4 separate regions of the Homo sapiens genome follow, and regions 2, 3 and 4 are each linked to region 1. The links are contacts of gene promoters, found by promoter capture Hi-C in blood cells and fetal thymus (Javierre and others, 2016). All regions are on one chromosome and are shown on one strand. The core of a region is centred on a gene start or on the middle of the fragment in contact, and the rest is flanking DNA. Distances in the headings are between cores, read along the strand shown. Region 1 holds the start of PIK3C3 (phosphatidylinositol 3-kinase catalytic subunit type 3). Region 2 holds the start of ARK2N (arkadia (RNF111) N-terminal like PKA signaling regulator 2N). Region 3 holds the start of HAUS1 (HAUS augmin like complex subunit 1). Region 4 holds the start of EPG5 (ectopic P-granules 5 autophagy tethering factor).

The links. The method cuts DNA at HindIII sites, captures the fragments that hold promoters and counts their contacts. A CHiCAGO score of 5 or more calls a contact.
Region 2: the fragment with the promoter of ARK2N here is called in contact with the fragment with the promoter of PIK3C3 in region 1 in 1 of 17 cell types (total B cells); the score reaches 5.5 in total B cells.
Region 3: a contact is called between the fragment with the promoter of HAUS1 here and the fragment with the promoter of PIK3C3 in region 1, in 1 of 17 cell types (total B cells). The highest score is 5.4, in total B cells.
Region 4: the fragment with the promoter of EPG5 here is called in contact with the fragment with the promoter of PIK3C3 in region 1 in 1 of 17 cell types (total B cells); the score reaches 6.3 in total B cells.

What each region holds. Positions count from the first base shown.
Region 1 is chr18:41,952,111-41,959,151 of GRCh38, forward strand. It overlaps PIK3C3 (phosphatidylinositol 3-kinase catalytic subunit type 3), which reads left to right and starts at 3,124. Exons shown (of 25, transcript NM_002647.4): 1 at 3,124-3,249; 2 at 5,460-5,648. The coding sequence starts at 3,182. RefSeq lists an enhancer at 2,902-3,081. The HindIII fragment of the contact is 3,603 bases long and covers 1,861-5,463 here.
Region 2 is chr18:46,170,318-46,177,358 of GRCh38, forward strand. ARK2N (arkadia (RNF111) N-terminal like PKA signaling regulator 2N) reads left to right here and starts at 3,717. Exons shown (of 5, transcript NM_145055.5): 1 at 3,717-4,013. RefSeq lists enhancers at 3,291-3,340, 3,661-3,920, 3,951-4,000, 4,601-4,730. The HindIII fragment of the contact is 7,725 bases long and covers 2,901-7,041 here.
Region 3 is chr18:46,101,762-46,108,802 of GRCh38, forward strand. HAUS1 (HAUS augmin like complex subunit 1) reads left to right here and starts at 2,624. Exons shown (of 9, transcript NM_138443.4): 1 at 2,624-2,680; 2 at 3,433-3,607. The coding sequence starts at 2,651. It also overlaps a transcript of ATP5F1A not described here. RefSeq lists a silencer at 2,449-2,548 and an enhancer at 2,939-3,028. The HindIII fragment of the contact is 1,925 bases long and covers 1,214-3,138 here.
Region 4 is chr18:45,964,312-45,971,352 of GRCh38, forward strand. It overlaps EPG5 (ectopic P-granules 5 autophagy tethering factor), which reads right to left and starts at 3,018. Exons shown (of 44, transcript NM_020964.3): 1 at 2,866-3,018. The coding sequence starts at 2,928. RefSeq lists an enhancer at 2,777-3,278. The HindIII fragment of the contact is 12,390 bases long and covers 1-7,041 here.

The DNA of each region.
Region 1 (7,041 bases), core at 1,874-4,373:
CAACACATTTCTAAGCCATCATTAAAACTGGTTACTAGAATAATTAAAATAGAAATTGAAACAAGGTGGCAAAAGAAGCACAAAGCCAAAACTGCAACTCCAAGGGAAAATTAAATATGGGATCATATAATAATCATTGGAAGAGCCTACCACACCAAGAAAACACCTATTTCTGTAAGTTATTTTTCTGCAGACAGGCCACCGTGGACTCTTGCAATGCAAATTGTATCCCATAATTATGAGCGTATGTTATATTCATGATTCATGAAAATCACATGGGAAGGAAAAAATCATTCCTCTCCTTTCAAAATAAGATGCTTAAGGCTTCCTTTTCTCTTATAGAGATGGCCTTGTTAATTGAATTCTGATACTCAAGTCTACCAACCAACACTTCCCTGACTTACAGTACAAAAGGCACTGAGAGTTTTGGTTTCTATAATAATTCTTTCCATGCTTCCATGACTTACCAAAATCTTGCTCCTTATTGGCACATTAGTTTTCCTTGATGTATTAACATATTTAATACAACTACAGTCAAGTTTTCTGAGATCCCTCTATAATACATTTTTAATGTTATTTTTTTCTCTTGATAATCTTTAAAAAGTTAAATCTATTTTGGGTTCTGTGAATGAATATCTTATAACTAAGTACTGACATTTGATTTTCATGCTTTTATCTGTGTTGTGTTTGCAACTGTTTTGGAAACAATCAGTATTACTTTAATTGTTATGAGCTAATGAGAAAAGGACAAAGTCAGGCTTAAAACAAAAAGATGTGTTGTAGGCAAGATAAAGCCAGAATACATCATGGTGGTTACACTCATGAAGAGTTCATAGTTATTTGAATAGAGAAAAAGAGTCTAGAAAAATGAATTGCCCTGTGGAATATAGCAGTATAGACGTGCTGAATTTCAAAGAATCAGTCCTGTAAGAGTAGCCAACACTATATTCCATAATCATTTTGCAAACAACAGTTTCCGTAAAAAATCCCACTATTATATTAAGATTGTTAATTTGAAGTTTTTATATTTAATTTGTAAATTTGTTTGGTTGTATATGTATATAATATTATCTTAGGTTTATACATTAAATACCATTACATAATGAAAGTAATTTATTCACCACTGGGATCAGATAATTTACTCCTTTACACATTGTCAATATTTTATTCAAGATTGAGGTTTCACATCAAACCTCACACTCATTGCTGGAGTTATGCCTTAAACAGAGTACTTGTGACAACAGTGTTACTGTTGAATGGCTGTGATAATTAGAAAGTTCAATTTGTATTGTTTGTTGAAATTACATTTCCTGTAAGTTCCAACCATTGGTGGCAGTTATTCTTAGGAACAAATCAAAGGTGCTCTTTTTGTTTAAACTTTAAGTTATAGGAGGATAACTATCATGTTTTTCTTTATTCTACCCAAATCCTTTTCTTGCCTCCATAAATATTTTTGAGAACTTATTTTGTGTAAAACATTCTGCATTAGCCATTTTTTTTCCTTTTCCAGGTTAAACAGCTCCACACCTTTCACCCTTTCTTGGAAATATTTTTTTTCTAATCCCTCAACATTCTAATTACGCCATTTTGCACATACTTTAGTGATGTCCGTCTTAAAATGCAGCACTTAGAAATAAAGACATAGGCTGGGCGAGGTGGCTCACGCCTGTAATCCCAGCACTTTGGGAGGCCGAGGAGGGCGGATCACGAGGTCAGGAAATCGAGACCATCCTGGCTAACACGGTGAAACCCTGACTCTACTAAAAAATACAAAAAATTAGCCGCGCGTGACGGCGGGCACCTGAAGTCCCAGCTACTTGGGGGGCTGAGGCAGGAGAATGGCATGAACCTGGGAGGTGAAGCTTGCAGTGAGCCGAGATCGCGCCACTGCACTCCAGCCTGGGCAACAGAGAGACGGGCACTCCAGCCTGGGCAACAGAGCGACTCTGTCTCAAAAAAAAAAAAAAAAAAAAAAAAAGAAATGACATAGCAGTTTGGGAGGCCAGGGCAGGCAGATCACTGGAGGTTAGGAGTTTGAGACCCGACTGGCCAACATGGTGAAACCCCATCTCTATTAAAAATACAAAAATTAGCCTGACTGGGTGGCGGGTGCCTGTAATCCCAGCTACTTGGGAGGCTGATGCAGGAGAATCGCTTGAACCCAGGAGATGGAGGTTGCAGTGAGCCGAGATGGTGCCAGCCTGGGCGACAATAGCAAAACTCCATCTCAAAAAAAAAAAAAAAAAAGAAATAAAGGCATAGAAAATGGAGACTTTCATTCAATATCATCATTAATAACCAGTAAGTAGGAAGTATTAAACTCAGCAATGCATTAGACAGCTAGCGGGGCAAGACACGGAAGTAAATGGCACACTGGTCTTACCTTCCAAGAGTTTTCAATCTAATTGGAAGGGAGTATTACAATTTTAGATTATAATAATTATAAAAACAAACATTATAGGAGCTCAGAGGGTTTAGAGATCTGTGTTCTGTAGTTATTACAGGAGGCCTCTAGATTCTAACTTGGGTTAGGGCTTGAAACTACATTGAATTTGAATATTCCCAGTTTAAACATGCACGCAAGTATTATGTCCAAAGTAGCATGAATACTGACAACACCAAACATGAAACCCAGATTTATTTATTCTCTATTTAGTCCTTTCCCTACTCTTTAGAGCAGAAAGAGAAAATCCTTGCTTGAGATAGCAAATTAGTGCTACACTTTTTGGGAAGGCCACTGGAATTTAAACCTGGCAAAATTCCAATTTTTGTGCTTGTAACCTGTTTAGCCGGCAGCCAGTGAAAGCTGTTATAATTCTTTTTGAATTGAATTTTCTTTCGTATTGTTTTAGGTACAGCTCAAGCTCAAATGATAGCGTCTCTTTTTCTTTAAAAAAAAAAAAAAGTGCTGTCAAGACAGGAAAACTGGAATGTAACCAGATTAGCCGTTTCCCGTATACATTTGCCCTTAAGCAAGATGGTGGGCGCCTTGTGCACATGCGCGGAAGGGTTGTTTCGGCGGGGAGTTCCGCCGCGTCGGAACTCGCTCCGGGCGTGGATTGGCGGCTTGCTGGCGGGGGCGGAACCGGAAGTTCCGTGTTGTGGGGCTCAGCTGGTTCATTTATGTTGTTTTTCCTGTACCTAAGTTCCCGCTGTAGGTGGTACCTTTGCAGACGGTGCGATGGGGGAAGCAGAGAAGTTTCACTACATCTATAGTTGTGACCTGGATATCAACGTCCAGCTTAAGATGTAAGAGAACACTCGGGACAGGGAGTGGGATTGCTGGGGCGTAGGGACGTGGGGGCAGGGGCCTGTTGGGAGTGAGAGGCAGAAAGTACGTGACTCGTCTCAAGGCCCAGATTGGGGGCGGCTGTGAGGGCTGTAGCCAGGGAGGCGCGAGAGAGTGGATCGTGGAGAGGGGCTCTTTTGGAAAAGGATTTAATACGTGGTCTCCGTGAGAAGCACAGCAGTAGGAATAGCCCTTAAGTTCCGCTGTATTTTACAGTCTTTAAAGTTTTTGCTGTTCAGCCTTTTGAGAGTTTATTACTATTTCATTGTAAATTAAGAAATCAAGTCTCGTCGTAAGTAAGAGGACGATCTTTATTTTGGAACGGGGCTTGTAGGGTGGAATGAAGGCTTCAGAAATTATGGAGAGGTAGACACAGGCAGATGCGATAGTTGAGAATAAGATGAGCACATGGTGTATTAGCACGGGAGGTGATAGAGGCCTAGAGTGAATCTTTGGGTAGTATGGCAGTGTTTAGTCAGGGAAGTTGGGAGTAAGTCGAAGATGAGGGTTCCAGTTTCAAAGGTACCAAGAAGATAGGAGAAAAGAGTCTTTGCAGGAAAACGTTGGGGCACCACGGCTGAAGTAAAGGTCAAGGGCGTGATATCTTGAGATGAGGATAATAGAACTGGTATAATGACGAGGGATGCACAAGACAGAGTTGGAAATTATGTCCCTTTTAAGGTGGTCATGTAGGAGTGTTGTCAAAGCTATCACAAATTATTGACCATAGCATCATCCATAATTAATAAACATTTCTTGTGTATGTTCAATTAATATTCAACAAATATGTGTCGGTCAAAGGCCTGCAGTAAGTGATAGATAAATTTTCTCAGTTGTCTGATGTACCTTTGAATGATCATTTCATTTTATTTTCAGAAGTCCCTTATTCGCTGACAAATACTTTACTTTTTAGTTTGTGGTGGTGGTGGTAAAAGTAATATGTCAACAACCACCTTGTACCTTTGTATGATACTTTATACACTCATTTAAGGTATTTTCCATAGCATACACCACTAGTAGTTTATACAGGATCAATATTGATAAAGGGCTTTCCTTCAGCTTGATGCTCAGTATTTCTTGGATATATGAATGCATTTTTTGAAATGTTTGAACATTAAAAATAAAGAAAAAGCCAAAAAAACCGGTCCCTTTTTTTTTTTTTTTTTTTTTTGGAGACAGGGTCTCACTCTGTCTCCTTTCCCTTTGGGATGACGTTCTGCTTCTTTTGCTTCAACTCTCATGCATTGTTCAGGATCATTTCAGACATCTATCTGGGGTACTAAGTCCCTTCCCCATGCCAGCCTAAGTACTCTTGAGACTCTGATTTATCTTACTGTAATGGGAAGAATATTGGCTTTGGCCTCCCTGCCCTAGTGTTTATTCTCAGCTCTGTTACTTACGTTGTGACTGTGGATAAGGAGTTTAGTTTATAAGTCTCTGTTTCCTCATTTATAAAATGAGAATATGGTGAAAATTATGTAAGAAAGAAAATATAAAATGCCTGGCACAGTATCTGATGTAATCTTGATGTCTAAAAAATGTTCCTCCCTCTGTGATAGTATCCTGTGCATATCTATTTATGACTTATACCACTGTTTTAAAGAAATGATCAGACAATGCATATGCATAGTAAAAGAAAAAAATGGAAAGAGTAGAATAAAAACATGCAGTTAAAAGTAAATTTTTTTCCCCAGAAGCAATGACTTAATATTTTATTGTAATACTGTATTGCTTATCTTTTCTTTCTTCTGGGCTTCTTTGTCCACTATGGTAAATGTTTCCTGAAAGAATAGATGAATATGTGGTCAACTTGAAATGAAGAAAATGAAACCAAGGCCTAGAAAGCTGGTGACTTCCAGAGGGTAGATCAAGGGTCAATGGCAGCGTTTAAAATTCAGAAGTATAAAATAGAGAAATGTGTTGATGAAGATGGGACTGATATTAGGTATGTTAGGATTTTAAGAAACCCTTATCATATATAAAAATGACATTAATTTCATATACAGGAAAATGTTGTTTAGGTAGCATACCTTAACACAAAGGTAAACTTTTTAGTACTTATGCATATATGTACATGCTTAAAGCATATATGTACATGCTTAGTACTTATGTATATATGTACATGCTTAAAAAATTCATGTCTGAAACATTGTTGGTCTTGTGCTTTCAGAGGAAGCTTGGAAGGGAAGAGAGAACAAAAGAGTTATAAAGCTGTCCTGGAAGACCCAATGTTGAAGTTCTCAGGACTATATCAAGAGACATGCTCTGATCTTTATGTTACTTGTCAAGTTTTTGCAGAAGGGAAGCCTTTGGCCTTGCCAGTGAGAACATCCTACAAAGCATTTAGTACAAGATGGAAGTAAGTTTTTTTGTGGCATATGGTATGTTACAGACTGTTCTTACCTTTCTTTATGGATGCTGCAAGTATAATTTAGTAGGATTATAGAGGAATTTCTTAATACCTATAGGCATTGATCAAATCATTTGAAGTAGAAACATACTCAGATAAAGTATTATGCATGTCAGTATTATAACTGCAATTGAAATAGAAATGGATTTATGTTTGTAGTTAGCATATTGACATTTTGATAAGCACTTGACTGATTTACATGACCAAAAACAAAAACACGTCTGTGGCATTTTAAAATTCTTTACCATCCTGTGCTCTTGAATGCATAAATACTTCTGGATAGTCTGAAATATTGTCCAACCTGATGTTTGGAGCTCAGATTTTTAGAGATAGATCTATTGCCATCGGTTCAGATAAAATTTTTATTATTATTTTACATATGAAACTAATTTATTTAGATTCATAGTTTATTCAGCATGGCACATTAGCAAGACCTTGTCAAGATGCAGGGTAAATATAATGAACATGAAGTTCCTGTTTTTTTCAGAAGAGTATTGTGGATCCTTAATCTGACTTCTTGACACTTCTTATTTGATAGACTATGTAGTGCAGTTCTGATGTTTGATCAGCGAGTGTTATTCAGCACTCTGGTAGGCTCAGTGTAGGATACACAGGCTGTATGCTTTTAAGGAAGGAGTGTTCATGGAAGACAGGATGTGACCACATGGACAGCCAGACTGTGCCATAGAGGGTTCAACCCTGTGTGTCCCAGGTGTCACCCAGTGTAGCTGGAAAGGGTTTTCAAACAGCAGAAGCCTGAACTCTGGTGATCTGGCCATATCGAAACCAAGTATTTTAATGGTGTAATTTCTTCAGTAGTCTTTGTGGAGAGATATCTGTCTGTCTGTCTGTCTATCTAGCCTATCTATCTGTATATATATATGTGTGTATATAGATATAGATATATATGTATATAGATATGTGTGTATGTGTATGTAGATATACACACACACATAAAAAATATATATATATACTTAATACTTTTTATTCTGGAAAATTTTAAACCTACAAAAATAGAATAATACAGTGAACGCCTAAGTTTCTGTTACATACCTACTGTTAACTCATGGCCAATCTTGTATTCTCACCATTTTGTAACAAACCTCAAACGTTATAACACCTTAACTGTAAGTATTTCTGTATATCTGTTTTTAAAGCATAACTACAGTATCATCATCATCACACCTAAAACAATGGAGCAGAATTCCTTAATTGTATCAGAGATTCTTAAACTGGAATCAGGAAGTCTTCAAACCCCTGAAGGTGTATGCAGAATTTTGTGTTTTGTGTACTTTTTCAGGGACAGAGCTCAAAGCTTTAATTAGATTTTTGAGGTCACCTA
Region 2 (7,041 bases), core at 2,467-4,966, 4.2 Mb after region 1:
CCTGAGTAGCTGGGACTACAGGTGCCTGCCACCATGCCTGGATAATTTGTTTTTGTATTTTTAGTAGAGACGGGGTTTCACCACGTTGGCCAGGCTGGTCTCAAACTCCTGACCTCATGACCCGCCCGCCTCGGCTTCCCAAAGTGCTGGGATTACAGGCATGAGCCACAGTGCCCAGCCTTTTCTTTTTTTTTTTTTTTTTTTTTGAGACAGAGTCTCGCTCTGCCACCCAGGCTAGAGTGCAGTGGCACAGTCTTGGCTCACTGCAACCTCCATCTCCAGGGTTCAAGTGATTCTCCTGTCTCAGCTTCCGGAGTAGCTGGGATTACAGGTGTGCACCACCACACCTGGCTAATTTTTTGTATTTTTAGTAGAGACGGGGTTTCACCATGTTGGCCAGGTTGGTCTTTTTTTTTTTTTTTTTTTTTTTTTTTTTTTGAGACGGAGTCTCGCTCTGTCGCCCAGGCCGGACTGCGGACTGCAGTGGCGCAATCTCGGCTCACTGCAAGCTCTGCCTCCCGGGTTCACGCCATTCTCCTGCCTCAGCCTCCCGAGTAGCTGGGACTACAGGCGCCCGCCACCGTGCCCGGCTAATTTTTTGTATTTTTAGTAGAGACGGGGTTTCACCTTGTTAGCCAGGATGGTCTCGATCTCCTGACCTCATGATCCACCCGCCTCGGCCTCCCAAAGTGCTGGGATTACAGGCGTGAGCCACCGCGCCCGGCCCAGGTTGGTCTTGAATTCCTGACCTCAGGTGATCTGCCCGCCTCAACCTCCCAAAGTGCTGGGATTATAGGCGTGAGCCACCGTGCCCGGCCTGTATTTTTTTTTTTTAGTAGAGATGGAGTTTCACCATGTTGGCCAGGCTGGTCTTGAACTCCCGACCTCAGGTGATCCGCCCACCTTGGCCTCCCAGTGTGCTAGGATTACAGGCGTGAGCCACCACGCCTGGCCTTAGGTTGCCCAATTCTTAGCAATCTGAGATGGAAGGGAGGGGGCAGCCCAGAGCCCAGAAATGAGGGTTCCCTCCCCTCGTCTCCCCCTACTTTCATCATCTCTAGAGTGGTTCTCATAATTGTGTCCATTTTACAGGGCAAATGGTAGAAGTAACCTGCTCAGTCAGGAGAGATCAGGTTACAGTCAAAGCCAGACCAGCCACGCCCTGATGCTACTGTCCAGGCCACCACAGCTGGCAGGTACCTGCTGCAGGCTTAGCCCCAGGCTAGGCGGTATATCAGGTGCAAAAAATGATGGTGAAGAGTGATTCTGACAGGCTTGGCTCTGGCCTCTAGGGCTATGACAGAAGTTGAGAGGATGACGAATATGGTTTAGTAGTAACCCTACAGATAGACCAAGGGCAGACATGTTTGTAGGAGAGTGTGTGTGAGCAGGGGAGTCCTGACCCACAGTGGAAGGCCAGGATGGAGGGGGTAATAAGGGTAGTGGTGACGGGGGTTGTGTCTGGGCTGAGCTGGTTTTATGGGAGAGATGGCATTTCAGGAGCTTGTAGAGCTAAGTATTGGATACACAGAAGACTTTGAGGCAGAAGTAGGATCCCTTCTGCTCCTACAGAAGAAGGGGAAGAAGCAAGTAACTGTACCATTTAATAATGGAAATATAGTAGTAATAAAAATATTAGTAATTAGGATATCAAATGCCCTAGCCTCCAAAAATATACAAAGGCCATTCGACGTAGGAAATTGACTTATTGGTATTAAACAGGAGAAGGGGCTGGGTGCGCTGGCTTACACCTGTAATCCCAGCACTTTGGGAGGCTGAGGTGGGTGGATAACCTGAGGTCAGGAGTTTGAGACTAGCCTGGCCAACATGGTGAAACCCCGTCTCTACTAAAAAACCAAAAAATTAGCTGGGTGTGGTGGCGTGCACCTGTAATCCCAGCTACTCGGGAGGCTGAGGCAGGAGAATCGCTTGAACTCGGGGGGCAGAGATTGCAGTGAGTCAAGATCGCGCCACTGAACTCCAGCCTGGGCGACAGAGCAAGACTCTGTCTCAAGAAAAAAACCAAAAAACCAAAACCAACCAACCAAACAAAAAACAAAGAAACAACAACCACAAAGCAAAAAACAAAAAACAAAAAACAGGAGAAGGACCCAAGATGGTATCTCAGTAGTCAGGGTCCTACTTCAGTATTTCTGCAGCATTGATTAGATCAGACTGTCAAGGAATCTTTTAAAAACTCAATGTATTAGTCCACATTCATTCATTTCCAGACTGAAAGTTGTGATCTTAGTGTGATTTTTCCTTTTCTTTTCTTTTTTTCCTGAAATAGGCTGGGCTCTTGTCACTACCCCATAACCTCTCAAATCCCTTGAGGACTCAGGTAGCAGAAAGTAAATAAATGAATGAACGAGTGAAATAACATACACGGATAAACTACTTAGCTAGCACACACTACGTTCTCTGTGATTCTCAGTGAGGCAGTTGGTGGCTGTGGTTAAGAAAGTAAGCTCTGCCTGTGTTGGAATCCAACACTGCCACTTACTTGGATGTGTCATCTTGGGCAGGTCACTCTGTCCCTCAGTTTCCACCTTTGCAATTTGGGACTAGTAACGCCATCCAACTCATAGGGTTGTTATGAGTTGTAATGAGGATTCAGTGGATTTAACCCATTTAAATGCAAGGTGCCTGGTATAATAAAATTATTTTCTTTTCTTAATTTATTCTTGTAGTTGGGGATGAAAAACTCGCACTCCTGTAGGCAGTCAGAAAAAATGAGTGAAGTGGGGGAACTAAGGGGCCTGGTCTGAAGGGGGAGACTGATATTTAGGGGAGTGCGGACCCAGTGGTGTGAGATTTTCAGAATCTCCTCTTGACGGGTCTCATCCGAGGTTCCAGCACAGCTCTGTAAAGGTAAAGACCGTTTACATTTTCCTCCTCAAAGCTTTATTATTATTATTTTTCTTCTCAAAACACTGCTTTGCTTTGGGGGAGCGCGGGTCCTTGGCCAGATCTTGAGTCTTGAGATATGTCTTCAGCATCTCCTGCTCCTCCTTGGGAAACGCTCCACCCGCCAGTGGGCCTGCGCCCTCCTCCCCTTCTTCGGGGTTCGGGTCCACCTCGTTTCCCCCACCCTCCCCAGGGCTGACTGCAAATCGGAGGGCGACTGCAGAGGCGGAATTCGGGGCAGAGCGGGGTCTCCCCAGCGGGCCACGTCCCACCAGCAGGTGGCGGTCGATCTGCAAGGCCTGCAAGGTGCCCGGACAGAAACTTGAGCAGATATTGGTGCCGCTGCCCGAGAAGAGCTCAGCCGAGTCTCCCCGAGCCCAGCTATCGGCATCCGCGAAAAAGCGGGGAGAGAAGGGCACGGGCTCTCCGCTGGAGCGACTCTGGGATTCAGACACCGCAAGCTGCTTTCGGAAGGGCTTCAGGAGGGGGTGAGTACTGAGCAGCGCACAGAAAAGGGAGCGCTGTCCTTTGCTGAAGGCATTGTCCTTGGCTTGCATTGAGTGGCTTTCCCACCCCCCGGGAAAGACATTTCGGGAAGGTGACGGTCTCAACAGAAGGAGGGAGCGCGGGAAAGAAGCCCGGGGAGCCGGCGCCTTCACGCCCCGCGGTCTGCAGCGGGAGGAGCGCGGGTTCCATCGCGCCAGATGGCGCTGTCTGGCTTTTCTCGGGCCTCGGGCGCCAGTCTCCAGAGGTCTCCGGCGCAGCTGCCTCTCTAGCCGGCCGACGCGGGCTCTGTGTTTCCGGGCGGAAGTGAGGCGCCCAGCGGAACGGCCTCTGGTGACATTTTCTTGGGGGCGGCGCGGACGACTGAAGGGACTTGGTGGTAGAGGCTGCGGAGGCGGCGAGGTTCACTTTGGTCCCGGCAGGGGCTCTGACCGCGACCCACTGCTCGCTGCCGGGGCTTGTTCCGAGGAGGAGAAGGCGGCGGTGGCCGTCGCGTCCTGAGTCACCGCAGCGGGGAAGAGTCCCGGCCGGGGGTTCGGTGCGTGCCCCGACGGGGCGCGCGCGAAGCGAGCGAGAAGGCACGGAGTCGCCGCGGAGCGCAGGTGAGGCGGGAAGGGGCGCAGGGCCGCGGCCTGGCTACTGGTCGAGTTGGGGGGCCCGGGTTGCGTCCCAGGGAGGGGTCGGGGCGAATCGGAGGGCTGCGGGCCGCGGTGAGGGCTCTGCGGCGTCCGGACGCTGGGGTCCTAGCGGGCCTGGCTGGTGGGCGCCGGGAACTCGCAGCCTGGATTGCCGGCTGACGCTGGGGCATCGCACCTCTCCGACCTCCTTGCTCGTCCGCCGTTGGTGACCCTAGCGTCCTCCCGGCCCGGCGGAGTTGGCTCCGGCACTCCAAGCCCCCAGACGCTGGGGCCGGGTTGAGGCGAGTCCTTTTCCGGGGGTGCTGAGGGGAGGCTGGAGGTGCCGCAGTCCCCGGGCTGCGGGGGGAAGCGACTTCACGGCCCTGGAGTTGTCTTCACGCAACTTTCCGGCTCCTAGGCCCGCGGGGGAAGCAGTGGCGGCAACTCCGCCAGCTCCGAGAGTAGGGGGTCTGGCGCCGACACCTGCCCCTGCAGCGGAGAGCTCCGGCGCCGCGGCCGCAGTGGCCTTGGTGGAGGGAGAAAAGGCTTTCTTATAGGCTTGGCGCCGCCTGCCTCTCGGCGCTTCCACTACCTTCGGTCGGCAGGCGCCTCCAGTCAATGCGAGAGATGTGTCAGTCTCCAAAATAGACCGCTTCTGGGGAGTTTGTCAACTTTATTTCAAAACCGGCGAGGATGTACACTGACGAACCCGTGTTAAAGACTATCGCCTTTACGCAAGCCATTCATTCTCACTTTAAAATTGTCCACCCCCCCGCCCCGACCCCCGTCCCCGGCAGCCCCCATCACAAAATTGATGCTCACAGGTTGAAGTAGAGAACATCGGTACGAGCCCTACCAGATCCTTGAGCAGTTTCTGTTTGGATGGGTTTTTCGTTTTTTGCCTGACCTTTTGCTTTCTGAATCCTCTTACCCAGTAGAATTAAAATCCTACTGATGATACTTCGTCAAGGTTGGACCTCTTAATTACAAAAACATCTGCCAATTTTGCTTAGGCTTTTATTGTGTAGTATTGGGTACATGCTAACAGAATCACTCCCTTTCTTCTCTTGGGATATTTTAAGGATGGAAGCTATTAACTTTCTAATGTAGTTTTGCTGATCTTGGCAATCTAGATTCCTCCAGTAATCAGAGCATTGCCTTTTGGTTTAACAAGCATTTTTAGAGGCCTACAATTGATAGTTACTGCCTGATGTCCTGAGGAGTCTCAGGACAAAAAAAAAAAAAACACATGGTTCAAGCAGTTATCCTGCCTCAGCCTCCCGAGTAGCTGGGATTACGGGCACGCGCCACCACGCCCAGCTAATTTTTGTATTTTTAGTAGAGACGGGGTTTTACCACGTTGGCCAAGCTGGTCTTGACCTCCTGACCTCGTGATCTGCCCGCCTTGGCTTCCCAAAGTGCTGGGATTACAGGCGTGAGCCGTGGCGCCTGGACTGAATCAGATTTCTTAATGGGAAAAAAAATTTTTTCTGACAACTTTTTGTGGAAAATAGGATGGACTGGATATTGGAGCTGGAAACTTTCTCCATTGTTAGAATAAGTTCACCGTGTAGTTGTTACTTATTCACTTTATATTTAACATGCATTTATGTGAGAGTAACTGTCATAATACTCTTTGTTTTATGGTTATGATTAATTCAAAACCCATATAGTAAAGATAAATTCAGCTTTAGGTTCTAATTTAATGCAGTTCCATTAGAACTGAGGGCTAATGCGTGTCCTTCAAAGGTTTCTTGCTTCTAATATTAATAGTGATATTGGTACTTTCAGTCTCTTTATTGTGTGACTAGTAAATTCTGTGCGCTTCTGTAGTTACTCATTATACAAGAAGTTGTTTTGTTGGGATTCCCAATCTTACAGCTTTTTTTGACACGTGCATGAACAGACTTGATAAATAGGCAATTTCAGTATTCTTCTTTCTAAAGTTTGGAATTCATGTACACTAGAGACCCAAACCTTTGGTAAATCATCTTAGATCTTCCTCATTTTCCTGCACATAACTGAGGATATGGAAATAGCATGTATTCATGTTTACTGAATAGACAGTACTTGAGAAAAACCTGTAAAGGTGAAAAATGTGTGTGTGTGTGCTTTTTTTTTTTTTTTTAAAGACACTCTTGCTCTGTCACCCAGGCTGGAGTGCAGTGGCATGATCACAGCTCACTGCAGCCTCAACCTCCCGAGCTCAAGCATTCCTCCCACCTCAGCCTCCGAAGTAGCTGAGACCACAGGCTCACGCCACCACACTCAGCTAATTTTTAATTTTTTTTTTTTTTGAGATGGAGTTTTGCTCTTGTTGCCCAGGCTGGAGTGCAATCTCCACTCACCGCAACCTCCACCTCCTGGGTTCAAGCGATTCTCTTGCCTCAGCCTACCAATTAGCTGGGATTACAGGCATGTGCCACCACGCCTGGCTAATTTTGTATTTTTAGTAGAGACGGGTTTTCTCTGTGTTGGTCAGGCTGGTCTCGAACTCCTGACCTCAGGCAATCTGCCTGCCTCGGCTCCCAGAGTGCTGGGATTACAGGTGTGAGCCACCACGGCTGGCTAATTTTTAAATTTTTTGTAGAGATGGAGTCTCCCTATGTTGCCCAGACTTGTCTTGAACTCTTGGGCTCAGGCAGTCCTCCTGCCTTGGCCTCCCAAAGTGTTGGGATTAGAGTTGTGAGCAACTGCACCCGGCCTAAATGTTGGATTTTTAATGTGTTCCTTTAAGGAATAGTGATTTCATTATCTTCTGTTATTTTAGGAAAGAGTTTGGGACCAAATAAAGTTTCTTGGGTTACTGTAATTCTCTAGGCAAAATGAAGTACATATGATACTATGAATAAAAAGTTGTGAGACTATAAAAGGGGAGAGCTATATAGAAGGGGGATAGAAAATAGAGTGGATAAAATATTTGTAAGGGGCTGGGCACAGTGGCTCACACCTCTAATCCCAGCATTTTGGGAGGCTGAGACGGGAGGATCAGTTGAACTCAGGAGTTTGAGAT
Region 3 (7,041 bases), core at 1,374-3,873, 4.1 Mb after region 1:
CATGCCTGTAATCCCAGCTATTTAGGAGGCTGAGGCACGAGAATCACTTAAACCTGGGAGATGGAGGTTGCAGTGACCACTGCACTCCAGCTTGGGCAACACAGTGAGATTCTGTCTGAAAAAAAAAAAAAGGCCGGGCATGGTGGCTCATGCCTGTAATCCCAGCACGTTGGGAGGCTGAGGTGGGCGGATCACGAGGTCAGGAGATCGAGACCATCCTGGCTAACATGGTGAAACCCTGTCTCTACTAAAAGTACAAAAAATTAGCCGGGTGTGGTGGCGGGCACCTGTAGTCCCAGCTACTCGGGAGGCTGAGGCAGGAGAATGGCGTGAACCCGGGAGGCGGAGCTTGCAGTAAGCCGAGATTGCTCAACTGCACTCCAGCCTAGGCAACAGCACAAGACTCCCTCTCAAAAAAAAAAAAAAATTGCAGGGATATTTTGTAAAATTTGTAGTGATAAAAGTGGACAAAAGACATAAAGATAACTTTTTTTGCCCCATACTGAAGGGCTGCACCAGTTTATCTGAAATTTGGTTACAGAGCAGAGATATATTTAGTTTTTGTTTTTTTTTGTTTTTTGTGGTGGATTCTCACTCTGTCGCCCAGGCTGGAGTGCAGTGTCTCAATCTCAGCTCACTGCAAACTCTGCCTCCAGGGTTCAAGTGATTCTCTTGCCTCAGCCTCCCAAGTGGCTGGGATTACAGGCACGTGCCACCATGCCTGGCTAATTTTTGTATTTTTAGTAGAGATGGGGTTTTGCCATGTTGGTCAGGCTGGTCTTGAACTCCGGACCTCAGGTGATCCACCTGCCTCGGCCTCCCAAAGTGCTGAGAATATAGGTGTGAGGCACCGCATCCAGCCAGAGCAGAGATATGTTTGAAGCAAAAAGAATAAGCAAGACAGGCTGGGTGTGGTGCCTCATGCTTGTAATCCCAGCACTTTGAGAGGCCCAAGTGGGAGCATCACTTGGGGCCAGGAGTTCAAAAACAGCCTGGGCAACATAGTGAGACCCTCTTTCTACAAAAAATACAAAAAGTTAGCTGGGTGTGGTGGTGCACGCCTATAGTCCCAGCTACTAAGGAGGCTGAAGCGGGAGGATTGCTTGAGCCCAGGAGTTCAAGGTTGCAGTGAACTGTGATCACCACTATACTCCAGCTTGGACGAAAGAGCAAGACCCTGTCTCTAAAAATAAAATAAAATAAATAATAAATAAGCTTGGCTTGCTAGTAAGTTTCCTTTGAAAAGAAAATCATTTTAGGCTGGGTGTGTTGGCTCACACCTGTAATCCTAGCTCTTTGAGAGGCCGAGGCAGGCAGATCACTTGAGGTCAGGAGTTTGAGACCAGCCTGATCAACGTGGTGAAACCCCCCGTTCTACTAAAAATAAAAAAATTATCCCTGCATGCTAGCACAAGCCTGTAATCCCAGCTACTAGAGAGGATGAGACAGGAGAATTGCTTGAGCCTGGGGACGGGGGTTGGAGGTCGCAGTGAGCCAAGATCATGTCACTCTGCACTCCAGCCTAAGCGACAGAGAAACACTCCATCTCAAAAAGAAAAGAAAAGGTCGGGCGCAGTGCCTGTAATCCCAGCACTTTGGGAGGCCAAGGCGGGCGGATCACCTGAAGTCAGGAGTTCGAGACCAAGCTGGCCAACCTGATGAGATCCCATCTTTACTAAGATACAAAAAATTAGCTGGGCGTGGTGATGCACACCTGTAATCCCAGCTACTCGGAAGGCTGAGGCAGGAGAATCGCTTGAACCCGGGAAGCAGAGGTGGCAGTGAGCTGAGAGCCGAGAGCCGAGATCGTGCCACTGCCCTCCAGCCTGAACAACAGAGACTCCATCTCAAAAAAAAAAAAAAAAAAAAAAAAGCTGGGCGCGCTGGCTCACGCCTGTAATCCCAGCACTTTGGGAGGCCGAGGTGGGCGGATCATGAGGTTAGGAGTTCGAGACCAGCCTGGCCAATATGGTGAAACCCCGTCTCTACTAAAAACACAAAAATTAGCCAGGCGTGGTGGCGCTTGCCCGTAGTCCCAGCTACTTGGGAGGCTGAGACAGAAGAATCGCTTGAACCCAGGAGGCAGAGGTTGCAGTGAGCCGAGATCATGCCACTGCACTCCAGCCTGGGCGACAAAGCGAGACTCTGTCTCAAAAAAAAAAAATGTCCCTAGTTTTTAGGTTGGGGGAACTAACGGATCAAGTTAAGATTGCCTCAGCTCATATTGCCAGGGTAGAATATAAATTCTGAGTGGATGCAATCAATGTGGAAGAAACACAAACATCTTGCTAAGCAAGAACCAAACGTTTCAAGTACTTTTTTTTAACGACAAGTGATTCAAACAAGAAATAAAAATAAAAGAAAGAAAAAACAACCTGGTTCTAGGCGGCTCTATCTCTCGTAGTGTTGATTATACCGCGGAAGGCGGGAAGAGCTGGGAAGTGGCAACGAAGCGAGGCTTGCAATGCCAGAGCCTTCGACCAGCCTTGCACAGGGGCTCAACGGCCAGGAGTCTCAGGTAAAACCACAACTCCCAGAAATCCCGGGCCCGGCGAGGGGCGGGTGCCAACGGCGTGTGGGCGGGGCCTAGGGAGTGAGCGGGGCGCATCTCCCGCTAGGAGTTCCTAGTAAAGTGGCGGGAGCCGCAGCTATGGAGCCGCAGGAGGAGAGAGAAACGCAGGTGATGGGGCGGGAATGGGGATCGTTGGCCTCCTGGAAAACGCGTTTTTGACACCCCCGCGCCGACAGCGGGTCTCCTGTGCGCGCCACGTCTACTTTTCTCTCCCCTATTCCACACATCCGTCTTTTAGTGCCGCCGTCACTATCTGCAAGCCCCCCGTGCTTAGACTCTCCTGAAGGCCTTTCCCTTCCTGCCCGGGCCTCCCCTTGTTTGGATCTGGCCCGGGAGAGGCGTTGAGCAGCCCGTGTCCACAGACTCTGGAGTGGGACTTATGAAGCCAAACCCGCCTTCCGGTTCGCTGCTCAGCCCGGCGGCTTCCACATCTGAACTGCTTCCGCGCCCTGCATCCCAACACTGGGAGCCTCCCGGCGCGGCGGGGCTTCTGGTGATCGAGGGACAATTGCTTTTTTCAGACCATGCACGGTCTAATAATGCGTTCGCATTATTATGGTCTATTAAGCTTTAAGGTTTTTCAAGCGAGGCAAATTGTTAGCCTGTACCGCTTTTGCAGATTTGGAAAAGAACGGATTGTTCTCTGGTAATTTTCAGTATTGTACGTTTCTTTGTGTACTTGCTCACTTTTTATTTCCTGATATCTAGTATCTCCCTAAAGACAAGTGAGGTTGTGAAGTAGGACTCCAAAATAGTCACAGAAAGCATTTAGTTTGCTTTTGATCACTTCTTTGTCATATTCTCATCGAGCCATTACAGTAAACAAGGCTTATAATATTTGTCTTTCTTTTAATGGTTAGGTTGCTGCGTGGTTAAAAAAAATATTTGGAGATCATCCTATTCCACAGTATGAGGTGAACCCACGGACCACAGAGATTTTACATCACCTTTCAGAACGCAACAGGGTCCGGGACAGGGATGTCTACCTGGTAATAGAGGACTTGAAGCAGAAAGCAAGTGAATACGAGTCAGAAGGTGAGATTAAGTCCAGAGTTTTGAACGAGAATAAATAGAGGTAACCAAATTTTATAACACTAAAGTATACAGGATTAATTTACTGTAGACTACTTGTTTTGCTCCTTTATTTTTCCCAGATTTTCTTCCACTCTGTTATAGTAGTAACTTTATTGTTTTATGTTTATATATATGTATATGTATGTGTGTGTGTGTGTGTGTGTGTGTGTGTGTGTGTGTGTGTGTATATATTTTAGACAATCTTGCTCTGTCGCCCAGGCTGGAGTGCAGTGGTGTGATCTCAGCTCACTGCAACCTCCATCTCCTGGGTTCAAGTGATTCTCATGCCTCAGCCTCCCAAGTAGCTGGGACTACAGGCCTGCACCACCACACCCGGCTAATTTTTGTGTTTTAGTAAAGACAGGGTTTCACAATATTGGCCAGGCTGGTCTCGAACTCCTGACTTCAGGTGATCCGCCTGCCTCAGCCTCCCAAAGTGGTAGGATTAGAGGCATGAGCCACCCTGCCTGGCCAGTAGTAATTCTCTAAGTAATAAATGTTATTATACTAAATATCTTATTGGTACTCTGATAGCAAAACAGTAAGCCTTAAAAGAGTCTAAACTTGTTAGTCTGACACACAAGATGCCTTGTGGTTTTTTACTTACCTATCTGTTTTTTCTGTTTCCGGTCTCCATGATTTAGTCATACGGACCTATCAGGACACCTGAGGTGGTGGCCATGAAATGTGAGACTTGGACGAAATTACTCTATGACTACGTATCAGGAGATTGCATTAGAATTTTCTGCTGGGCATATATAGTTTGAAAAAGTGCATTCAAGGCCGGGCACGGTGGCTTACGCCTGTAATCCCAGCACTTTGGGAGGCCGAGGCGGGCGGATCACAAGGTCAGGAGATCAAGACCATCCTGGCTAACACGGTGAAACACCGTCTCTACTAAAAATACAAAAATTAGCCGGGCGTGGTGGCGGGCGCCTGTAGTTCCAGCTGCTCGGAAGGCTGAGGCCGGAGAATGGCGTGATCCCAGGAGGCGGAGCTTGCAGTGAGCCGAGATCGCACCACTGCACTCCAGCCTGGGCGACAGAGCAAGACTCCGTCTCAAAAAAAAAAAAAGAAAAAAAGAAAAAGTGCATTCAAGATGCCTATTGTTTTGATAATACAAACCACAAAAGTAAAGATTGACAAAAATCTTTTTAGATACGAGAATACACCAAAGAGAGGAAGTGAGGCCTGCATTTGCCCTATATTTAATCAGATGTATGGTATTTGTTACATATGATATTTTGAATATAGTGCAGTTTATATTTGATTCTATTGCATATGTGCTTTTTTCCAGTTTTCTTTTAAAAGTTAATATACAGCAGGGCCAGGTGCAGTGGCTCACGCCTGTAATCCCAGCACTTTGGGAGGCCAAGGTGGGCGGATCACTTGAGACCAGGAGTTTGAGACAAGCCTGGCCAAGATGGTAAAACCCCGTCTCTACTAAAAATACAAAAATTAGCCAGGTGTGGTGGTATGTGCCTGTAATCCCAGCTACTTGGGAGGCTGAGGCGGGAGAAATTCTTGAACCCGGGAGGTGGAGGCTGAAGTGAGCAGATATCACACCACTGCACTCCAGCCTGGGCAACAGAGTGAGACTCTCTCAACAACAAAAAAAAATTAATTAATTAATTAATTAAAAATTAACATACAGTAAAATTGACTTTTTATTTTTGTGTACCATTTTAATACACTTAGAGTGTAGAACCACTCTCACAATCTGAAATCACACAATCAAGATGCAGAACAGTTCCATCACCCCAAAAACCTCCCCTGTGCCACTCCTTTATAGCCATATTCTCCCATATATGTGCTTTTAAAATTGTCTTATTTTTAAATGATTTTATTTTTGTAATTATTAAAATACAGTGCAGAGAAAGGGACTTGGAGCCCAGAAAAATCTCATTTTATAAGAGCTTTCTTTTTTGTCTATCATATACTGTAACCAAAAATCTAAGGATTTCAAAGTAAAATTATTTATGTCTGTCCTTAAATACCTTTCAGGGTGATACATATTAAATAACAAATGTTCTAACTAATGTATGCAAAATTTTAACACAATTTTTATGTCTAGGTATCTAGAAGAGCATTGCCACCATTGAGATCTGATAGCTCTATGCATCATTACTTCTCTTTTCTAAGTTTTTCCTTCTTTTATACAGTGAAAGTGTTGAGCAGAAAATGAAAAATATGTGGAACTTTATAACAAGTGTACATTGATGTGTATTGGTAAAGAGTTTCAGCTTCCTCCATTTGCGATTCTAAAAACTGAGTAGTAATGCCATCTATAGCTCGCTGGACTTGAATGACCTTTGAGTTAAAAATAATCCAAATCATTTTTTAGGTGCAGTTTTTATTTCTGCAAAGCACAGTTCTTTACAGCACATGAGATTGGAACTTTTGGAAATATTTGCAGGAATTGGGAAAGGACATAAAACTTTTAGATGAAGTTTTGTTGTTGTTTTTGTTTTTTATAGTGGAGAGACAGAGTCTTCCTATTTTGCTCAGGCTGGTCTTGAACTCCTGGGTTCAAGTGATCCTCCCACCTCAGCCTACCAAGTAGCTGGGATTATAGGTGCACACCACGTGCCTGGCTGTGTGGAGATTTTTAATCATGAGGAATACAAATGAAACTATTGAAACTATTCATTCTTCGTGCCACCTGTTTGTCACTTGAGGAGGCAAATGAGAAGAAATTGCCCTGGCTAGAACCTCCAATATGATGTTGGATAGAATTGGCAAATACAGACTCCTTGTCTTGTCCCTAATCCTAGACAAGAGAGAATCCAGTCTTCACCATTAAGTGTAATGTTAGCTGTGGGATTTTTGTAGACACCCTTTGTCAATTTGAGGGAATTTACTTCTTTTTTTTTTTTTTTTTTTGGTAACGGAGTCTTGCTCTGTCACTAATTTTGTATTTTTACTAGAGACAGTGTTTCACCGTGTTGCTCAGGCTGGCCTTAAACTTCTGACCCTGCCTCACCCTCCCAAAGTGCTGCGATTTATAGGTGTGAGCAGCCACTCCTGGCCCACTCTAATTTTTATTATTTAATTCCTTCGGCTTGCTTTTGGTTTAGTCTGCTCTTCTTTTTTCAGTGTCTTAAAATGGAAAGTTAGGTTATTGATTTGAGATTCTTCTTCTTTCTTAAAATAGGAATTTACAAGTACAAATTTCCCTCCACATACCATTTGCAATGTATTTCATAAGTTTTGTTGCATTGTACCTACATTTTCATTCATATCAAAGTATTTTCTAATGTGTTTGATTTCATCTTTACCTGTTGGTTATTAGGAGTGTGTTGTTTAATTCCACTTTGTATTAGTCCGTTCTCAAACTGCTATAACGAACTACCTGAGACTGGGTATAAAGAAAAGAGGTTTAGGCCCCGCATGAT
Region 4 (7,041 bases), core at 1,768-4,267, 4.0 Mb after region 1:
GGATTGAGAGTCAGGATTTCTGGCTTTAACCTGAGTTCTCTCACGAACTGCATGACACTGAGCAATATTTAATCCCCGGAGGCTTTAGTTTCATCAATATCTTGGGGGAAAAAAACTAGAGATTAAGACTTAAGATTCTGCTCTCATAGACAACTAACATTTATGTGTTATGCACTACTGCATTATAGGTTCAGGAATTTTTTTTTTTCTTCACTGGATAGGTATGTTTTCTTTTTTTTCCTGTAGTCTCATCGTTAAGTAGGTTTAGGGATCTTATGCATAGCTGGCCAATGGCTTTTTTCTTCCTCCTGGGCCTGGATAGTTCTTTACCAACCCAATACAATGCAAAAGCATTTCTTTTAAAAATATTTCTGAGCCGGGTGTGGTGGCTCATGCCTGTAATCCCAGCACTGTGGGAGGCCGAGGTGGGCAGATCACCTGGGGTCTGGAGTTCGAGACCAGCCTGACCAACATGGTGAAACCTCATCTCCACTAACAATACAAAAATTACCCAGCCTGTAATCCCAGCTACTCGGGAGGCTGAGGCAGGAGAATTGCTTGAAGCCAGGTGGCAGACGTTGTGGTGAGCAGAGATCGCGCCACTGCACTCCAGCCTGGGCAACAAAAGCGAAACTCTGTCTCAAAATAAATAAATAAAATTCCTGAAATTTGGTACCAAAATGACTTTCTCACCAGAATAACTCCTCACAGACCTGGATACACCAATGTGTCTAACTCCACTACAGCCGTTTAAAAAGTCATATCAAGAAAACGTGGTAAATACTCAGCATGGAATACTATGCAGCCATAAAAAAGAACAAAATCGTGTCCCCTGCAGCAACATGGATGCAGTTAGAGGTAATTATCCTAAGCAAATTAATGCAGAAACAGAAAATCAAATACCACGTTCTCACTTATAAGTGGGAGCTAAACATTAAGTACACATGGACACAAAGAAGGGAATAATAGACACCAGGGCCTACTTGAGGGCAGAAGGTGGGAAGAAGGGAAGGATAAAAAAACCACCTGTCAAGCACTATACTCATTACCTGGGTGACAAAATAATCTGCACACTAAACCACCAAGGTGTGCATTTGCCCATGTAGTAAACCTCCACTTGTACCCTCTAAACCTAAAATAAAAGTTGGAAAGAAAAAAAAAGAGCATCATAATGAAAGAAATCCACATAAGTCATCTACAGTCTACTAAGTATGGTACCTATGAACACTACCCTCCTGTTAAAACCTTGTTCCCATGAGAAAATCGGATTACAGTATCATGCTTAAATTACACCTGCTTTGGAACATCACCCACTTCTGGGGAAAAAAATGTCCTGTACTTGTAATACCATCCTCCTTATTTCCCAAATGTAAACTCTGTTTCAGGTAAGCCAAAATTATGAGGTCTGGCCATGCGGGAGCAGCATTTAATCTGTTCATCTTAGAAAATATATATAAATAGGGTGGGCGCGGTGGCTCACGCCTGTAATCCGGGCACTTTGGGAGGCCAAGATGGGCGGATCACCTGAGGTCAGGAGTTTGAGGCCAGCCTGACCAACAAGGAGAAACCCCGTCTCTACTAAAAATACAAAATTAGCCGTGTGTGGTGGCGCATGCCTGTAATCCCAGTTACTCGGGAGGCTGAGGCAGGAGAGTCGCTTGAACCCGGGAGGCGGAGGTTGCGGTGAGCCGAGATTGCACTCCGCCGAGATTGCACTCCAGCCTGGACGACAGAGCGAGACTCCATATCAAAACAAAAACAAAAACAAAACAAAACATAGGCTGGGCGCGGTGGCTCACGCCTGTAATCTCAGCACTTTGGGAGGCCGAGGCGGGCGGATCACGAGGTCAGGAGATCGAGACCATCCTGGCTAACACGGTGAAACCCCGTCTCTACTAAAAATACAAAAAATTAGCCGGGCGTGGTGGCAGGCGCCTGTAGTCCCAGCTACTCGGGAGGGAGGCTGAGGCAGGAGAATGGCGTGAACCTGGGAGGCGGAGCTTGCAGTGAGCCGAGATCGCGCCACTGCACTCCGGCCTGGGCGACAGAGCAAGACTCTGTCTCAAAAAAAAAAAAAAAAATACATATACATATATATACACACACACATATGTATATATGTACGTATATATGTATATATGTGTACATATGTATATATGTGTATATATGTACTATAATAAAATGAAAATCCAGACTGCACTTATAAACAAATCAACTTAAAATCACTCTAATACCACATGTAGTCTAATACAGGAAACTCAGAAAATTCAAACACTTCCCTACTGTGTGAGTCCCGCCCTGGGTTAATTTCTAGCCATTCATGCCCCTTATAAACAATCAAGACAATAAGAAATAAACAGAGGCAGCACTACTATCATCTTGAACTTTCAAAGTGATCAGAAATGGCACAGCACTAGTCTACTTATAAAGTTCTGCCAAAGGTACCTTCTCCGCGTGGAGGAGGGGAACATTCCCTCTTTATGCATGGCAGGGACTAAAAATGTTCTAGGATATAAAAGAGTAAAGAGAGAGTCAACGATGGGGCTGGAAAGAGAAAAATTATTTCACGGCAGGAAACCAGACCCAGGTGAGGAAAGCCAAGAGAGCAGAAAAGGAAGAGGCCAGTGAAGTCACAGGAGGGAGAAGGAAAAATGGGGTCCTGACAGAGTGTGGCAGGGGGATATGGAGAAGGAATGGAGGAGAAGGGCCGGTGTCAACGGGTGGTGGGATCAAATATTGGAAGGTGGAGGCGGAAGATGCAGAGGGCTCAGGGAACGGGAGTAGAATTGGCTGGGGAGGCCGAAGAGAGGAGCAAGGAGACACAGCACACTGCCAGAGCCTCGGGAGGGTGGGGGAGATCCTCACCTTTGTTTTAGTCCGGCTGGCCTTGGCCTTGGCCCGGCGCTGGGGCTTCACCGCCTCGGCCATAGACCCTTCCGCGGCGCCGTCACCGTTTGTTTTTGTCAAACCCCTGCGCTTCAAGCAACCTGCCCGGTTCTGGCCTCCGGACTGTCACATGATCGAATCTCCGCCACTCCCGGAGAAGAGGCGGTGAGTCGGCGCCTCTACGGGCCGCAACGTAGGACAAACCACTCCAGGACGCATTTGCACTGGAGGAAGGCAGGCCCGCCCCCTTCCCGGAGCCCAGGCCCCACCCCTAGCCCTGGCTCCACCCGGCGCGCAGGTGTCTTGGGTTGCGCTGGACAAGGGCAGCGACCCAGGCTGACCCACCTCCTCCGTCTCCCGGCTCTGCGGAACCTCACTCAGTGCGGATCCCGGGCGCGCTCGCACACCTCACCCGCGTCGGCTTGAAGAAATCCGGAAAGTGGGTTTGCCATTCTTTTTTTTCATCTTCAGATAAACCAGATCCAGTCGGTTAGCCTAAATCCGCACTGCGCGCAAGGAAGAAACCCTGACGCCCATCGGGGTGTGCACTTCGGCGTCCTCTTTTGTAAAGGGGAATGATCACACCTGCCTTTTCGGATGTCATGAGAATTTAATGGGCTCTCCCAGAAAGGTGCCTGGTAGCGGCAGGCATGTCGGTACATGGTAGTTATTAATTATCATTACTGTACAAATTCCCAGACTGGAAAAAAGACATGTGCTCCTAAAAGGACAGGCAAACAGGTAACAAGATAAATAAGATCCGTAAAAGTATTCTTAGTATACATTTTACAGTGTGCTTCATTTGAAATTTCCAGATGTGAAAAACTTGTCCACATCTTCCCTTCCCAGCTCTAGGATTTCTGTGATTTGCTTGTATCCTTATTGTTAGTGTCTGTCAATCCTCCCAGAATGTAAGATCCTCAAAGGCAGGGTTCTTAATTTTGTTGCCTGATGTATCCAAGGGTCTTTAGAACACTGCACGTAGTAGCACATAGTAGATACTAAATAAATATTTCGTGAATCACACAAATGAGTATGAGTTTTGTCTGGCGGTGGGGTAAGATCGTTGAAATGGAGTGGGCCAGGCGCAGTGGCTCACGCCTGTAATCCCAGCACTCTGGGAGGCCGAGGCGGGTGGATCACCTGAGGTCAGGAGTTCAAGACCAGCCTGGGCAACATGGTGAAACCCCAACTCTACTAAAAATACAAAAAAGTCGCCGGGCATGGTGGTGGACGCCTGTAATTCCAGCTACTCGGGAGGCTGAGGCAGGAGAATTGAACCTGGGAGGCGGAGGTTGCAGTGAGCCGAGATCGCACCATTGCCCTCCAGCCTGGGCAACAAGAGCGAAACTCCCATCTCAAAAAAAAGAAAAGAAAAGAAAAAGAAGAAAAGGAAATGGAGTGTATGGGAGGGAGGAAAAAGACCATCCACCCACCTGTAGCATACCCTAGAATAAAAAATCCAGCAATATGGCATGAAAAATGGAAAAGACTTCAGAGATGCAGTTTGCTTGTTTGTGATGATATTTTAATTGAGTATATAATACAATTTCGTGTATTTTGTTCCCAAATCCTCAACAACAAAAATTATTAAGCTACTCAGAATATACATGTACTTTGTATGTCCTGGTGTGTGTGTGTGTGTGTGTGTGTGTGTGTGTGTGTGCATGTATATAAAGTTATCACCTGCAAAGAGTTGGCCAATATAAACAAAATCTTTATACCACCATTACTATCCATAACTTTTGCTGATATTTCTCCCAGTCTGGAATACCCTTGCTCTCTGACCTCTCCCAGTTTAAGTCATTTATGACATTTAAAGTTCTCTATGTGCTACCCACTACTTGGTCAGCAAAACACAACTGACCCTACTCTCAATTTGCATGTTTTACAGTTTAGTTGGGAAGCAGACACAATGCATAGATACATTGTGATACGTGTATCATCGCCTAACTGGTAAAAGAGGCATACATTGGAAAGACTGAATGAAGGGATGACACCAGGGCAGGGGTGAGTTCCACACAAAAAAGAGGTTAATCAGGGAGGATGGGAGAAAGAGGAGAAGGAGGAAAGAAATGAAGGTTCTTTAAAAAGCACCTCAGCCTGGCACAGTGGTTCACACCTATAATCCTAGCATTTTGGGAGACCGAGGCAGGCGGATTGCCTGAGTTCAGGAGTTCGAGACCAGCCTGGGCAACACAGTAAAACCCCATCTCTACTAAAATACAAAAAATTAGCCAGGCCTGGCAGCGTGCGCCTGTAGTCCCAGCTACTTGTCCCAGCTACTTGGGAGGCCAAGGCAGGAGAATTGCTTGAACCCAGGAGGTGGAGGCTGCAGTGAGCCAAGATCGTGCCACTGCACTCCAGCCTGGGTGACAGAGCAAGGCTCCGTCTCCAAAAAAAAAAAAAAAGCAACTCAAAACCACAGCCTCCTAGGACTGCATAAGGTACTTCTGCTGCATTTATGTGGCTTACTGCACTTCTCAAGATGGTGAATGTGAGTATGATGTATGATGACTGGAGAGGCCAGAGAGAGCCAGATTGCTCTGTATAAGCAGAGATTTAGAGAATTTAGAGAGGAAGGAAGAACAATATATAAGGGGAGGTGGAAACGAAGTCACCTGGCAGAGGGCTAACTACTAAGGAGACCTACATTTTCCATCACGAAGTTATCTGTCGTTGGATTAATTTCAGAAAGTGAGGCCAACAGCCAGACAATTCAAGTTCAGTAGAATCCAAACAAAAGGTAAAGCAACAATCAGTTAGGTAATGATATAATTTGAACCGAGAAGGTGGTTTTGAAACTACTCCTTTTGAAGGATATAGACTTGAAGTCTCTGTTGCCACAGCAACAATTTTAAAAGGGACAATGGGAGCAGGGGCTCAGAAAAGTTCCCGAACATATGCAGTCAAGGATTTCATGTCCCAGCCAGACAACTGACTGATAAGCAACCTGAGTTCCCAGGGCTGCTAAACCCAACCTGTGAGACAGTAGCTTGAAAAAGTAAACAGGCCGGCAGTGGTGGTTCACACCTGTTATCCCAGCACTTTGGGAGGCAGAGCAGCGCAGATCACTTGAGGTCAGGAGACCAGCCTGGCCAACATGGTGAAACCCCATCTCTACTTAAAAAAATACCAAAATTAGCGTAGCGTCATGGCATACACCTGGAATTCCAGCTACTTGGGAGGCTGAGGCAGGAGAATCGCTTGAACCCAGGAGGCGGAGGTTGCAGTGAACCAAGATGGCGCCACTGCACTCCAGCCTGGGCAACAGAGCGAGACTCCATCTCAAAAAAAAAAAAAAAGTAAACCAATTCCTGGAAGTAAAGTATCATCTCAGGAAAGTCAAATACAAAGCAGATAAAGTAATTTAAGCTGACAGCATAATCCTTTTGTGTTAAATTAGGAATAAACTGTATCTTTTTGTATTTAAAGTGCTTGTACTGGTTACGATAATTTGGCAAATTAAAGGATATAGACCTTATGATTCCAAATTAAAATATGTATTTTACTACCTGATTTTAGATTACATATATTTTAGTTAAAAATAAGATAATTTTATACGGCTTACATAATCATGGAATATCTCTGAGAAATTAAGATCTATCATATTTATAAACTGAATTTGTGGCTGGGTGCAGTGGCTCATGCCTGTAATCCCAACACTTTGGGAAGCCAAGGCGGGCAGATCACGAGGTCAAGAGATCGAGACCATCCTGGCCAACATGGTGAAACCCCGTCTCTACTAAAAATACAAAAATTGGCTGGGTGCACACCTGTAGTCACAGCTACCCGGGAGGCTGAGGCGGGAGAATCGCTTGAATCTAGGAGGCGGAGGCTGCAGTGAGCCGAGATCATGCCACTGCACTCCAGCCTGGCAACAGAGTGAGACTCCGTCTCAAAAAAAAAAAAAAAAAAAAAAATTTGTTAGACCTTAGTAGGATGGTTTAAGTAGTTAGAATGGTTGGTTGGTCAGTTCAGGCAACATTAAAAAAATTAATATTTTGAATTTAATACTGTAGTATAAAACATTTGAAGGAATTTAAGTGATGATGGGACCAATTGTTTAAGGGACTTTGGTCTGTTGAATGTGAGTGGATGAATTGTTAAGGTTCCCCCTTGAACATGACTATGAAACTCTATTAGATTTATAAA